Regions from separate parts of the Homo sapiens genome. Here regions 1 and 2 are each linked to region 3. The links are contacts of gene promoters, found by promoter capture Hi-C in blood cells and fetal thymus (Javierre and others, 2016). All regions are on one chromosome and are shown on one strand. Each heading gives the region's core, a stretch centred on a gene start or on the middle of the fragment in contact. The rest is flanking DNA. Distances are from core to core; before and after follow the strand shown. Region 1 holds the start of LOC101928236 (a long non-coding RNA gene). Region 2 holds the start of SLC33A1 (solute carrier family 33 member 1). Region 3 holds the start of SERP1 (stress associated endoplasmic reticulum protein 1).

Region 1 (4,553 bases), core at 133-2,632, 6.6 Mb after region 3:
AGATCGCTGGGTGCATTGAGAAATACAGTGAACATCTGTGTTTCAGCCTGCCCAGTGCCCAGTCTCCCTTCCTCAGTTCTCCCTTGAGGACCTGCAACTTCTCCATTCTCAGCAAAAGTGGTTTGGGTAGGACTAACCTCTTTCCTACTTTGTGAACTAATCTGAGTCTCCCATCGCCCTTCCCTCCCACACAGCGATTGGTTCTGAATGTCTGTCATGTCCAGAACTCTTGCTGGAACACTTGCAAGGGGAGGAGAGAGAAGTGCTTGTTCTTGCTGGGATTACTGAGAGGAGGATTTAAGCACAGAGCTACTGAGTGCCATCTTGACACAAAAGAGAACCAGCTGGAGAATGGAACCAGCAGAGAAAAGAGCAGAGACCAGAGCTAGAAACAGAATCCAATCACTTAGTTTATTTCCCTGCAGCCATGCCCTGTATTCTACTGCTGGGATTTTCAGTTACACGAACACTTAACTCCTTTTTACTTATTTAATCTTAAACCCATCTTAATGGAAAGACTGACACAAGAAATACTGTGGTGTGCTAGAATGTGGTGCATACGTGTGTATACTAGGGACTAATGTGGCTGAAGAGGTGGGCGAGGGCAGGCATGTCAGGCATGTGAAGGGCTGAGGAACAGACCCTCATTTTAGGGGACTCTCAGAAACTCTGGAGGGTTTAAAGCAGTGTTTACCTCAACAAGAAAATCAAGAGCTATAAATCAGAAACTGTAATATTAAGAACATTTAGTTTTTCAAGCTTTTCTAGTAGTTCATTTCTTTTTATTGTTTGTCTCTAATAATTACAAAACTTGAAAACAGGAGAAGGAGGGCTACAGAAGTAGCTGGGGCTGGAGCAGTGACTTCAGGGACTGGAGATAGCCCTGTACAATTAAAAATAGAAAGGACCTAGCAAGTCCCTGGAAATGACATTTTTAAAATGATTCCATTTTCCTCTTAAGGATTAAGTTGTAATTTTATTTTGAGCAATGAAGTGGCTGACCCCTTTTAGTAATGTTTTCTATTTCATAATAAACATTCAACAGAAATAGAATTTCAAGAGGAAACTTTTATAAATAATGAGAATCAGCTATTCCGAAGCTCCCTACACATTTTAATTAGTTTTCTCCCAGGAACACATTCATTAACTATTTTGAACACTATAAAACAAAAGTAAACCAGCACCACATCAAGTTCCCTGCGTATAGCTGTCATGTCTGTTTAAATTCTATAGCAGTTTGTGTGTGTGTGTGTGTGTGTGTGTGTGTGTGTGTGTGTGTCTTGTGATATTTTTCACAATTCCAGGCCAACTACTTTGAAGCATGTTCCTAAATTTGGATGTGTCTGATTATTTCCTCATGATTAGATTCAGGTTAAAGATTTTTCAAGGAATACTCCATAGGTAATGTTGTATCTCCATGCTTCACATCTAGGGGCACACGATGCCCAATTTTTTGTTCAATTATTGGCTACTTTTTATCATTTGTTAAGGTGGTATCCATCAGATTTCTCCATTGTAAAAGTACCTTAACACCCTTGCAATTAATAAGTAATCCATGGGATTATTCTTCCACAGTAAATAGCATTCTAACAAATATCAGTATCAAAGAAAAATGGCCCATAATGAAATTTTGTACAGTTAGAATGACTCTAACAAATCTCTACTGAGTATTCACTAAACTATGTTATGCTAGGCACTAAGACCAAAGTGATGAACAAATAGAGTACATGGAATGCTACATGAAAGGGTAGAATGCTACAGGAGCATACAGGAGAGGAACAAAGACCATTACATGTGAAGAAATGGAAGTTCAGAGATGTGAAAGGACTCGACCAAGATTTTAGATCCAGTAGCAGAGTGAAATTAGAACGGTGGTTTTTCTGATGCCCAGTCCAGTGTTCTTTCCATGACCACACACAAGGGCTCTACTGTAATGTTGGTTCTCTGGAACAAGTATAGCATTTGTTACCACAGTGAAAACAATGATACCTTAGTACTAAAAGAACAAGCTTTCTCCAGATCTACCACAAGGTGCTTTAGAGGGAATTTCGATTTAAACTATGTGCATTGTAACATTGAAGTCACTGGAGACCTAGTCTAGTTTTGCCTCAGGGAACTGTTTCTTTATAGTGTCACTGTCACACACACATGCACATACACACGCAGGCACATGCATACAGCACATAACTGGATATTGCTTATCAGCCCCATCTTAAAAATAGCACAGAACAAGACTTTTATTTTCAGCAATCAGGAAACGTTCAGAGGTATCTACATCCTAGTCTTGAGAGTCGACTTATATTTGATACCTGATTTTTATAGTTTTCACAGCATTTTCATATACTATCACTGGACTCTCAAAAACAACACAGTTAAGGCAGGTGTGATTGGGCACAGCTGTAGTACCAGGTACTCAGGAGACTAAGGCGAGAGGATAACTTGATCCCAGGAGTTCAAGTCCAGCCTGGGCAACATAAGGAGACCTCATCTCTTAAAAAACACCTGAACTGGCCAGACGCGGTGGCTCACGCCTGTAATCCCAGCGCTTTGGGAGGCCGAGGTGGCTGGATCACCTGAGGTCAGGAGTTGGAGACCAGCGTGACCAACATGGTGAAACCCCGTTTGCGGTGTTAGCCAGGTGTGGTGCCGCATGCCTCTAATCCCAGCTACTTCAGGAGGCTGAGGCAGGAGACTCACTTGAACCCAGAAGGCGCAGGTTGCAGTGAGCCAAGATCGCGCCCATTGCACTCCAGCCTGGGTGACAAGAGCAAAACGCTGCCTCAAAAAAATACAAAAAACACAAAAAAAAACCCCACCTGAATTATTTCTTAAGGTGGGAAAGAGGGATCAGTGTAAAATGTTGGCTGGATTACTGTCTTGCCTTTAGATATAAAAATATCTAGTGTATACTTAATTTTCAGAATTACAAAATTAGGGAATGATCAAACGTATATATATATTTTATTTTTCAAAAGCCTGCGGCACCCAGTGTTTCAAGGTGGTCTCGCATTCAAGGACTAGCTAAGCAGGTCAGACCCTGCTTAGCTTCCAAGATCAGAGAAGACAGGGCAAGTTCAGGGTGGTGTGGCTGTGGACCATGTTTTTATACCTATAATTTATTTATATTCATTCACTCAATCCTGCTGTATGCAGGACGATCTCAGCTTCAAACTCAAAAGCTGGATCTGGTGGTCAGCTCTTTCAGGCACTGTTTTGTCATGGGATTTAAAGATCTCTTGTGCTTAGTTTTGGATCTGTAAACATAAATCCCAACCTGGATTCTTCCCTGGGCTGACGGAGTTCAGGGAGAAAGGTAGCAGTAGATAAGTCATATGCTGGAAAAGCTTGGACTCTACCCTGTCATGAAAACTTTCAGGAACATTTCTTATTTCTTTTTAGAGACAAGGTCTCACTATGTTGCCCAGGCTGGCCTCGAACTCCCGGGCTTCAGCAGTCCTCCCGCCTCACCCTCCGATGTAGCTAGGACTACAGGACCGCGACCCGGCGCTGCCTAAGAACTGTTTTTAAACGTGAAAGCCACGGCTATCATTTGCTTTTTGCTCTGCTCTTCATCTTCTGGATAAACCTCGTAACACACTGCTTGTTTTGGGGTAAGTGAATTTAAGTATTATTATGGCATTTCCAATTTTCACGGAAGGACTCTGGCGATATCATAATCGTCACAAGCCCTGAAACGGCCATCAGAGGTCAAGCAGGGAGGTGGGTTTTCTGGAGGGCTTAACTGTGGGGTAAGTGACTGGAGGGGGCTGATCAGTTTCCCCTTTCCCTTTTCCCGGAGCTCAGTGGTAGTCTGCTGCCTACGCCCCGTCAGACAAGTGGCCTGAGTCCCCCGCAACCCCTGCAGGTCCGGCCGCCGGCGCCAAGCCTCAAGGCATCCAAGCCAGGAACGATCGCGGTCAGCTCTGCCACGGAACATGTGCAAGACCCGGCAGCAGGTTCCGGGGGAGGCGAATTGATTTCACAACGGTCGAGAAGGAGGACCCCGCCCACTTCGTCATTTCTCGGAAGCCCAGGGACTCGCCGGAAGAGCGGCTCAAAAGCCGGAAAACTGGCAAATCCGAGTCTCCCGGCGCATGCGCGGCGCAATCGGCTTCGCGTGGTTGCAGTAGAGAGGATCCCTCCGCCAGCCACTGCATCCGGCGGCCGGATCTAACTTACCCGCTAGCGTTTTACCCTTGCGCGGCCGTGGCGTAGGGCGGTCTTTTCCCTTGGTCCTCCGCGGCGCCGCCTCTTGTGACGTAAGCCGCAGAATCCTCTGTCTTAGTTCGGCTCTATTGCCGCGAGCTTGACTCTTCCTGGGTCTGAGGAAAAGTAAAAGTAATTTTGTCATTTCCTGAAACTTCAAGTTAAACCTTTAAGCTGTTCATTTCCTAAAAGGGTGAAAACGCGGGCACCCCTCGAGCTAGTTCATCGCCTTTTAACCTGTGAGTTCTGTTAAAAGGAAGTAACTGCAAAATGTCTTCGCTGTTAGGTTTCTTTGGAAGTTTTGGGTTGTGTTCATGCGTTCTCTCGGCGTGTGAACTGGGAGAAAG
Region 2 (4,801 bases), core at 617-3,116, 5.3 Mb after region 3:
GGCCAACACAGTGAAACCTTGTCTGTACTAAAAATACAAAAATTAGCTGGGTGTGGTGGCACATGCCTGTAATCCCACTACTCAGGAGGCTGAGGCAGGAGAATGGCTTGAACTAGAGAAGTGGAAATCGCAGTGAGCTGAGGTCCTGCCACTGCACTCCAGTCTAGTGTCAGAGGGAGACTCCATATAAAAAATACATATATATAATTTTAAGACAGGGTTGCACTCTGTTGACCAGGCTGGGGTGCAATGATTGGATCATAGCTCACTGAAGCCACAATCTCCCGGGCTGAAGCAATCCTCCTGCCTCAGCCTCCTGAGTAGCTAGGGTTACAGGCCTTCGCAAAACACCCAGCTATTTTTTTTTTTTTTTTAATTTTTAGTAGAGATGAGGTCTTGCTGTATTGCCCAAGCTGGCTCTACCTCCTCAGCTCAAGCAGTCCTCCCACCTCAGACTCCCAAAGTGCTGGGATAACAGGTGTGAGCCACTGTGCCCAGTCGTGACTTATTTTTTATTTTATTTATTTATTTATTTTTGAGACAGAGTCTCAAAAATGGGGTTTCGCCATGCTGGCCAGGCTGGTCTCAAACTCCTGACCTCAAGTGATCCTCCCACCTCAGCCTCCCAAAGTGCTGGGATTACAGGTGTGAGCCACTGTGCCCGGCCAGCAGTGAATTATTCATAAAGCAGGAGTGGAACCCCAGAACACTGAGACAAATCTACCTGGGTGCAAAGCAATTATCTCTCAACCAAACAACTGAGGAAAAAGTACTATCACCATCATTTCACCAGTAATAGTGGCTCACTCATTAGCAGTTTGAGGAGGTGTACATAAGGTTAGATGTCTGTGAGAATAAGATTGCAGGAAAATAGTGTAGTTGTGACACCTCCTACCACCACCACATACCTGGACATTTACTCTACTGTGAATTTCCAAGGTAGCACAGAAGCTGAGAAGTTCAGTTGCTTAAATTTCAAAACAGAATCCCCTAAATTCATCATCACTGACAGAATGAAGAATTTCACTATATTCCTGACATTGTTATTCCTGATATTGGTCATTTTACTTGTTTTCTAGTTGTTACAAAAGTTAAAAACAAACAAACAAACAAAAAAGCTTAGGCCAGGTGGGGTGGTTCACACTTATAATTCCCAGTACTTTGGGAGGCCAAGGAGGGGGAGAATCACCTGAGGCCAGGAGTTCAAGACCAGCCTGGCCAACATAGTGAGACAGCCCCCCCGACCCCCAACTATCTCAATTAAAAAAAAGAAGAAAAAAGAAAAAAGAGAAAAACTTACATGTGTTTTACTCATGCAGAGAAACAGGGAAATTTTTTAGAACTTACCCTCCATTACTTACAGGACAAACTTTAAACTCTTTTCCCATAGTAATTAAAGAAAATCTTACTAATTTAGTCACAGCCTTTCTCAGCACGATTTCCCAAACCCAGTTCCACAATTTAGGCAATGTCCTGTACTTTTTTGTACTTTCCTGCCTCAGTGCACTTTTACTTTGTGTTGTGCATTCTGGTGTGCCATTTCCTGGCCTCGTGGAATCTTATTCAAGAACAAAGTCAAATGTTATCTGCAATGTGAAGCCTGACTCCCAAAGGCAGTTACTAACTGGCAACTCTGAACTCTCCTAAAATGTTCATCTTCCTTATTTCTTGAGTGCAGAACTCTGCCTTATTCATTAGAGGCCTTAGAATCCCGTCCCTTAGCTGGTTCAATAATGTTTGAACGAATAAACCCTGTTCCATTCACTAGAAGGCTGGATTCTGGGTACAACGGTAGGGGTAGAAATGGATTAGAAAGTATAGAGCTAGAAACCTAAAACCAACAAGACAAAAGGAAAAATGTGAACCATATGAGCCACACTTTTTAAAAGTGTGCATTTGTGTATTAAGCAAGTGGCATGAATCCCTGGACTCGGTTGTGTTATTTGATGGGTTGCCTCTCCCTGTTAACCGCATAGTGATCATTTGATTGCTCTAATATCATTCATTTTGGCTTTAATATTTCAAAGAAGCTCATTTGGACGAAACAGAAAACTTACCTTGAGTTATCTCCCATACAATGATTTCCAGTAAATTAATGAGCTTCCCTCCAACGTCACACACTCTTTCAAAAGGATAAATAAACCTAACACCATAATAGCTTAAATACACTACCTGAAAGAGTAACGATTCCTCTGGGTTGAGGCTGAAACCGCAAATATTTGTTACAAAAGTCGGCAGATTCAAGGGCCAAAAACAAAACATTGCCCAAAAAGTAACCCGCTGTTTGGCCCACCGAATTGCAAGTAGAAGCATAACCCACATTTTCCCTGGATAACATAGTTAACGCCCAACCATCGACGGCAATGTCCTGAGTGGCGGCCAAGAATTCAAACAAAAAGAACGCCACAGTGAGAGCAATCACGTCGGGTGTTCTGTCATCGGTATTCCCAAGCAAACGGTCCACCTGAGTGGATAAATAGATCATGAAGAGTCCTAGTATATACTGTGTCGGGACAAGCCAAGATTTGCGACGACCGAAGTTCTTAACGTAGACCGCATCAACCAACGGGGCCCAGAGTAATTTGAGACTGAAGGGCCAAAAGACAAAACTGAAGAAAGCTTGGTCTGTATAGCTAACATTTTTGCTTTGCAAAATGAGTGGGATGCTTCCCGCCAAGCCCAGGGGAATACCCTGAAGCACGTAAAGAAAGAGTAGTAGCAAAATGCTGCTTAGTTCGGCCCGGAAGCTCTGTGGGGCTTTTAAGAAGTCGCCAGTGCCGGTATCCCCCAGAAGAGCTTCTCTGTCCCCTTCCCGGCCCGCTGAGTCCAAATGACTGTCATCCCAACCGCCTGGCGGCAGGGGACCGCTCTTCATATCCAGAGAGTGACTGAAATTCCCTGGCCGCCGTTGCCGGCTGCTGTCCTTGTGGGAGATGGTGGGTGACATATCAGAGACGATGCAGAGCCCCGTCTGTGGGGGGCCGAGGCTGAGCGTTTTGGATCCGTCCAGTCCCAGGTCCAAGGCTGTCGCGCTGGACCAGGGTTTCGGTGGTTCACGGGATGGTGGCAGGGCTCAGAGCGATAAGGGCACTTCTTACTGCAGCCCGGAGTGCTGAAGCCGGGAGCCAGTCCTCTGGCTAGAGGCCCAGAGGATGCCTGGATAGGTGCCCCCTGGAACGGCGTCAAAGAGCCTGAAGGAGACCCCCGGGCAGCAGCGCCGGGCTCGAGGCTGGAGGTGTGTGCCGTGGTGCCAGGATGGAAACCAGCTCCTACCTGCGGCGGGATCGAACGGCTGGTCTCCCGACCCAACACCTCCAGCTCTCGCTGCTATCAATGCGGCAGAGAGCACTTTCTCTACAGGACTCCAGAAAAAGCATATAACTTCCTGCCTCGCGCTTCAGGAAGTGGTCCCAGTCTCTAACAGGTCCCTTCCCAGCCTCCAGAGCAAGCCAATCAGGGACACGCTCTCGTGGCCCAGTTCGGAAACAATGCTTGGTGGGAACCTGCAATCTTGGCTGCCGGAACCTTCGGGGAGGATTAACGCCGGCGCACCGTGCGGCCGGGGCGGGGCGCCGCCCAAACTCAGGCCCTGTGACAGCGACTGTGGCGGTCTGGAAAGCGTGGGCCTCGGTCATTGGGCACGAGCGGTCACGTGACAGCGGGTTCCTCCAGGCCAGCGCTGGTGGTTGAGTGATGTAATCACGTGGGGTCTGAAGTCTTCGTGGGTGTAGGTTTCTTCGTTATGCTGACGACAGGCAGTGCCCGAACTCTAGGCTGGGAGTTGTGCCATGCTGCTGCTTTCGTGGGCTGACCAGAAAAGGGTAGAAGGATTGACGTTTACGAAGTTTTTGAATCAGGAGGCAAGGTCGCCTTGTGCCCCCAAAAGGATAGAAAAAGGCCTGGCAAACTGGAGAATCGCGTCCTTACGGTGCCTACATATTTATAGTACGAATTAAACTGCTCAAGGGGTGCTAGGTTTGTCTGCAGTCCGTTTCTCCCTCATGGTGGAAGACGCGTGGGGAAACTTGGTAACCAACTCTAATTACATTGGTGATTGGAAGACTCGTTACATCCTGTTTTTATGTTGCAATAAAACGTCTTGTGGCCGGGCGCGGTGGCTCACGCCTGTAATCCCAGCACTTTGGAAGGCCGAGGCGGGCGGATCACCTGAGATTGGGAGTTCAAGATCAGCCTGACCAACAAGGAGAAACCCGTCTCTACTAAGAGACGTACAGGAATTTGAGAATCTGATTAATTTTTTTTCTGCTCTCTCACCTCTGGCAGAAAGATTATTATTTTTTTTTCTTTTGAGAGGAATCTCACACTGTCGCCTGGGCTGGTGTTCAGTAGGGCCATCTCGGCTCGCTGCAGCCTCCACCTCCCGGGTTCAAGCGATTCTCCTGCCTCAGCCTCCCGAGTAGCTGGGACTACAGGCACGCGCCACCACGCCCGGCTAATTTTTGTATTTTTAGTAGAGACGGGGTTTCACTATGTTGGCCAGGCTGGTCTCGAACTCCTGACCTCGTGATCCGCCTGCCTCGGCCTCCCAAAGTGCTGGGATTACAAACGTAATGGCAGGCTAGGCACAGTGGCTCACGCCTATAATCCCAGAACTTTGGGAGGCCGAGGCGGGTGGATCACGAGGTCAAGAGATTGAGACCATCCTGGCCAACACGGTGAAACCCCGTCTCTACTAAAAATACAAAAAATTAGCTCGGCCTGGTGGCGCGCGCCTGTAGCCCCAGCTACTTGGGAGGCTGAGACAGGAGACTCGCTTGAACCTGGGAGGCGGAGGTTGCAG
Region 3 (4,937 bases), core at 10-2,509:
TCTATAGTGAATCAATTCTTTGCACAAGCTTTATTTTATAAAATATACTCAATTTTGACATTAAGACATTAGATTCTGGTATATGTTAAATCAAGTTCTAACATCTATAGTACATATTTATAATTTTCTTTGCAAAGACTGATAATGGAGTTACAAAACATTCTAAATTCTCATTTCGTTAGGTTTTGTCCGGTCTTAACATTTATTCCAACTGGATCATTACCAAGACCTGACCTCCTTTTTGATCTCCTGTGAGTACAAATTAAGCTGGGAGAAGTTTCTGGAGCACCACCCTCTGTGCATATGTGGAACAAGTAATTTGGTTCAGACGAAACAGAATTATGTGGAGTCCTCGGCAGGTGGGTTGAGAACTACGCAGGTAGGACTCACTACTGACCGGTCACCACGTCATCCCAAATCCTTTCAACCCAAGACTCTACCTGATGGGAGCCCCCAAGCCACTTACCAGAACCACAGACAACAAAAATGAAGAGAGCCAATAACCAGGGTCCTACAGACGCCTTCTCTTCGGGGGCATTTCTCTGCAAAAGCGAAAATCCACCATTTCAGATGCAGAGAAACCACTCGGACCCCAGGCTCCCACGCCTGCACGCCGGTCGCCGGCCCCCTCACCTCACAGGTCTCCCCTTCCGTTCCCGAGCCCCCACAGTCTGGCGGTTCGCAGACTCGGGCCCCTACCCCTCCACGGCACCAGCCCACGGTCGGCCGGATCCGGGAGAAAACGCGACGCGGCCCCAGGGACCCGGACTCAGCTCCGGCTGCGGAACGCAGAGGGGCGCCCGCTCTTTCCTTACCGAGGTCTTGGCGACGTTGCCGCGCTGGGTGATGTTCTTGCTGTGCTTCTCGTTGGCCATACGGATCCTTTGCTTGGCGACCATCTTCGCGGCGCCACCACCTGCCCCGGCCACCCCTCGGACTCGCTCACTCGCCTGCCTCCTCTGGAGCCGCTGCGAGGCTCGGCTCGTGGTGCCCGCGCCGCCGGAGCGCCGAGGTTCTCAGGCCAGACGCTAGCTACGGCCGCTGGGCCTGGGCGCCGCAAGCGCGAGGTCTGAGCACAAGCCGGGCGCCGGCCGCCGACTGACTGACCGAGCGGGGCAGGTGCGCAGGAGGAAGAGAACTGGCCGCCGGGTCGTTCTCGCGCCGCCGTCGCCGCCGCTTTGGCCGCCGCCGTGAGCGCGGAGTGAAAGAGGAAGGAAACGCAACGCAACAACGGGAATGTGCAGCCCGCCGCCTCGATCTACTTTGGGTTCGGCTGCCAACGTCAGCACTAGACGGACTCCGCCCCGCGGAAGTGCGCGCCCCTCCCGCTGGAGAAGGAGGGCGAAAGCAGGCGCACCCTCCCAAGCTCTGTCAAGCGTCGCCCTAGATTTGCGCGTGCGCGTTTGGGCGCCTTTTCCGCGTCACTCCGTAACCGGAAGTGAATTGGCCCCGAGGCTGATGGCTCCGGAAACACCAATTCGCTGTCTCCACGCATGAGGAGACGTGTAGGGGCCGGGTTCGGCCCTGGTGAACTCTCACCCGAGCGGTTTCTCTTTCCGGGACAACATGGCGCCGTCCACGCCGCTCTTGACAGGTGAGTTCTGAAGAAGCGAGGGACTCTCTTTCTTCAGACTAGTTTCTTATTTTTGTCTTTGCCTTTGAGAACTACCCGAGGAGCCGGGGAGTCTGATCTGCCTTTTCTTGTGGCTTGCGGAAAGGCCAGACTGTTGGCTTTCTTGATATAGCGTGGCAATCGGAAGTGAAGTCTCCGCCTCTGGGCTTTCGTATTCCCCCTCCCTTTCACCCATCCATCATTCTTGCCTGCGGATTCATCTTCTACAGAAATAGAAGAAGGGGGAGAAAAACAATGTGCTAGTTGAATTTGTGACACATGGGTCTGCAATACTGGTGTTACACGGGCCCTTGTGAAGTCATTTAGGTCTACAATAAGAACAAAGACAAACATGAGTTAGTCCTCTAGAATGATCACGCACTTTAAATACACCTGGACTTAAGTAATTCCAGATTCTGGCCTTCCTGCCTTAATGAGGTTTGTAGGACTGAATAGGGAGAGTGGAGCTGTAATGCAGGTTTCAAATGATGAAGGTGTGGTTGGGAGAGGGTGTAGCAGTGAGCATGATAGAGATATTCTAGCAACATTTGATTTTGAAATGGTTATGAGCATATTAGAAATAGAACATTAGAGGACTCTTGAAATTTTGAAGCTAAAGACTGTAGTGTTGGAGGAGATAATAAACTTAGATTGGAAAATGCTGGGGAAGTTGCTTTACTAGGGTGTGGCTAAGAGTCTGCATATGAGTATTACGTAAGGAAAAGAGAGTCGGGAAGGAAAAGAAGGTTTTGGTTAAGTTCTGATAACTATATAGAAGGAAAAAGTCATTAAGAGAAAGGTTGTCTGCATTTAAGGAGGGAGGCTATTCCCTCCCTTCCCCCCCGCGAAAGGAACCTTAAAACATTTTTGCACTTTTTGCCAGTCTACATTTCTATTTTTACATTTTAAAATCTTTGTTATTAAGCGCCATGCCCACTGATGCTCAGTCTGTCTTCTGCAGTTTAGTCATCATTTATCAAACGCCGAGTATAATCTTCTAGATAATATACCAGGCAAAGACTGTTTAAAAGGCAAAGTTACATAATAAATTTTTTTTTAGGTTTGTAAAGGTAGCTTGTTATTCACAATTTTTAATACTAAATGCTTATTTGAACTCTAATGAAAAAATTACATTCTAAAATCTGATAAATAACCCCTCCTTTAAAAATGCCTACAGTAGGTAGTTCCTCTCTGCTTACAGGGTAGATTCCATCCTATGTAGCATAGTTATGTAACCATTTATAATCTTTGAATTGCTCTTGAGACTCATTTATTTCCTTGCCATCCCATCTTATTTGGTGCTCCATCAATACTGAACTGCTTCTGAGTCCCTTTGAACAACCTGTTTCTTCAGTCTAGTACTATCCTATGCCTCTTGTTGATTTGGCAAACTCTTTTTCATCTGTTGAAATTAAAATTCATTTTAGATATCATTGCTCTGTGAAGCCTTTCGTCACTCTACCCAGATAGAGTCAGTCACTTCCTGGGCTATTTTTGTACCTGAAATATATTTGAAATTTTATTTCACTTACTAAGTAGGATAATTAGACATTCACTTGCCTTTCTCCCCTGCTAGACTGTGAGTCCTTCAATGTCAGCGACAGGGTCTTATTCATATCTGTCTTCTCAGTACTAGTGCAGTGCCTGGTAGACAATAGATACTCTAAATCAGGGGTCCCCAACCCCCTGGGCCGGACTGGTACTGGGCAAGCATTACCACTTGAGCTTCCCCTCCTGTCAGATCAGTGGGGGCATTAGAGCCTCATAAGAGCGCAAACCCTATTTTGAACTGTGCATACAAGAGATCTAGATTAGATTTGTCTGTTTAGACTATCCTTTTAAATTAATGAAGGATAGCCACTTTATAGTAAATTAACCAAGGATGACAATTGTCTTACAGTGCTTAAAATCAGGGACTTTGTAAGAGCTTAAATGTTGTCTGTTCAGTCTACTCTTCATATTCTCATATTCTTAGAGGCCCAGAGAGATTAAGTGGTCCGATTCACACTGCAAATTGGCAGGATTAGGATTATACTTATTCAGATTGTTCAACTCTGTGGTCCATTTTTCTTTCACTAGAACAAACTGTTTAATCTTTTAAACATTCTCAGTGTACATATTTCATTCAACAATAGATTATTTTACTTCCAAAATCTTTTGTTAAATTTAGACTCGTGGGATTTTAGAGCTGTGAATAATTTGCAGATTAGCCAGTAAATTTTGTTAACCCCAACTCTTAATTGGGAGTGACAAGCCAAAGCAGGTGAAAAAGGGATTTTTTTTTTTAAACTCGTATAACCTAAAAGCCTCAGTACTGCTAGATCCAGATACTCACATGGCTTCAGAAATCTGTTTTTCTTTCTTTCTTTCTTTCTTTTTTTTTTTTTTTGAGATAGTTTCGCTCTTGTTGCCCAGGCTGGAGTGCAATGGCGCGATCTTGGCTCGCTGCAACCTCCACCTCCCAAGTGCAAGCAATTCTTCTGCCTCAGCCTCCTGAGTAGCTGGGATTACAGGCGTGCACCACCACGCCCAGCTAATTTTGTATTTTTAGTAGAGTTGGGGTTTCACCAAGTTGGTCAGGTTGGTCTTGAACGCCTGTCCTCGGGTGAGCCACACGCCTCTGCCTCCCAAAGTGCTGGGATTACAGGTGTGAGCCACCATGCCTGGCCAGAAATCTGTTTTTCTTCATCTGTAGGTTCTTGCTTTCCTCCAGATTAAATTCATCTTTAAACTGACATTCAACCAAATGCCCAGCTCCAAAGGAAAGAACACATTTTTGCCAGTAGTCTCAGCAAAAATCTCAAGGCTAGCTGCCTTTGACTTTGCTTGGCTCACCTTTGTATCAGTCAACTTTTAATCATGTAGTCAGGACTAAATTATCTTCCCACTCCTCGATACTCCTCAAAAGAAAATGAGCGCCTCCTAAAGAAGAGGAGCTGGTTGCTAGGCACATAAAACAGCAATGTCCATTACGTGAAATTCACATTGTCTAATCTGCTTGACCAGTTGAAGTCACAGAGATAATTTATTCAAAATTGAGTGATTTTCCTAAACTAATACATAGTTCAGTGAATGTAAGAGTTGGGAAAAGTATCGTATTTTAAAGATGACTACACCCCTGCCATGGGATCCTTGTTTATTGAAGCCCTGTGTTTTTCTCTCTCTAACTCAGGCCTAGAGCAATAAATAGTATATGAATGTCTAAAAAGGCTAGTAAGCTTGGAAAAGATTATGTAGATGTTTAATGTATTTCACACAGCTACTGTGTGAAACTGGCGTTTATTTGTTGTCTTAAAAGAACTGCTTGCATTCTAGATTTTTCTTT

The links. Contacts are between HindIII fragments. The CHiCAGO score rates a contact against its expected background, and 5 or more counts as called.
Region 1: a contact is called between a fragment that was not itself captured here and the fragment with the promoter of SERP1 in region 3, in 1 of 17 cell types (naive CD8 T cells). The highest score is 6.8, in naive CD8 T cells.
Region 2: a contact is called between a fragment that was not itself captured here and the fragment with the promoter of SERP1 in region 3, in 1 of 17 cell types (activated CD4 T cells). The highest score is 5.8, in activated CD4 T cells.

The regions. Positions count from the first base shown.
Region 1 is chr3:157,170,945-157,175,497 of GRCh38, forward strand. LOC101928236 (a long non-coding RNA gene) reads left to right here and starts at 2,756. Exons shown (of 10, transcript XR_007096141.1): 1 at 2,756-3,611; 2 at 3,805-4,445. It also overlaps the pseudogene RNA5SP146. RefSeq lists enhancers at 3,405-4,553, 3,891-4,270. The HindIII fragment of the contact is 1,250 bases long and covers 758-2,007 here.
Region 2 is chr3:155,851,051-155,855,851 of GRCh38, forward strand. It overlaps SLC33A1 (solute carrier family 33 member 1), which reads right to left and starts at 3,377. Exons shown (of 6, transcript NM_004733.4): 1 at 2,173-3,377. The coding sequence starts at 2,947. LOC105374174 (a long non-coding RNA gene) reads left to right here and starts at 3,703. Exons shown (of 3, transcript XR_924607.4): 1 at 3,703-4,028. RefSeq lists enhancers at 2,965-3,034, 3,405-3,964. The HindIII fragment of the contact is 1,501 bases long and covers 1,117-2,617 here.
Region 3 is chr3:150,545,237-150,550,173 of GRCh38, forward strand. SERP1 (stress associated endoplasmic reticulum protein 1) reads right to left here and starts at 1,260. Exons shown (of 3, transcript NM_014445.4): 1 at 816-1,260; 2 at 467-542. The coding sequence starts at 899. EIF2A (eukaryotic translation initiation factor 2A) reads left to right here and starts at 1,551. Exons shown (of 14, transcript NM_032025.5): 1 at 1,551-1,594. The coding sequence starts at 1,567. RefSeq lists enhancers at 771-1,401, 847-2,046, 1,319-1,858. The HindIII fragment of the contact is 4,802 bases long and covers 27-4,828 here.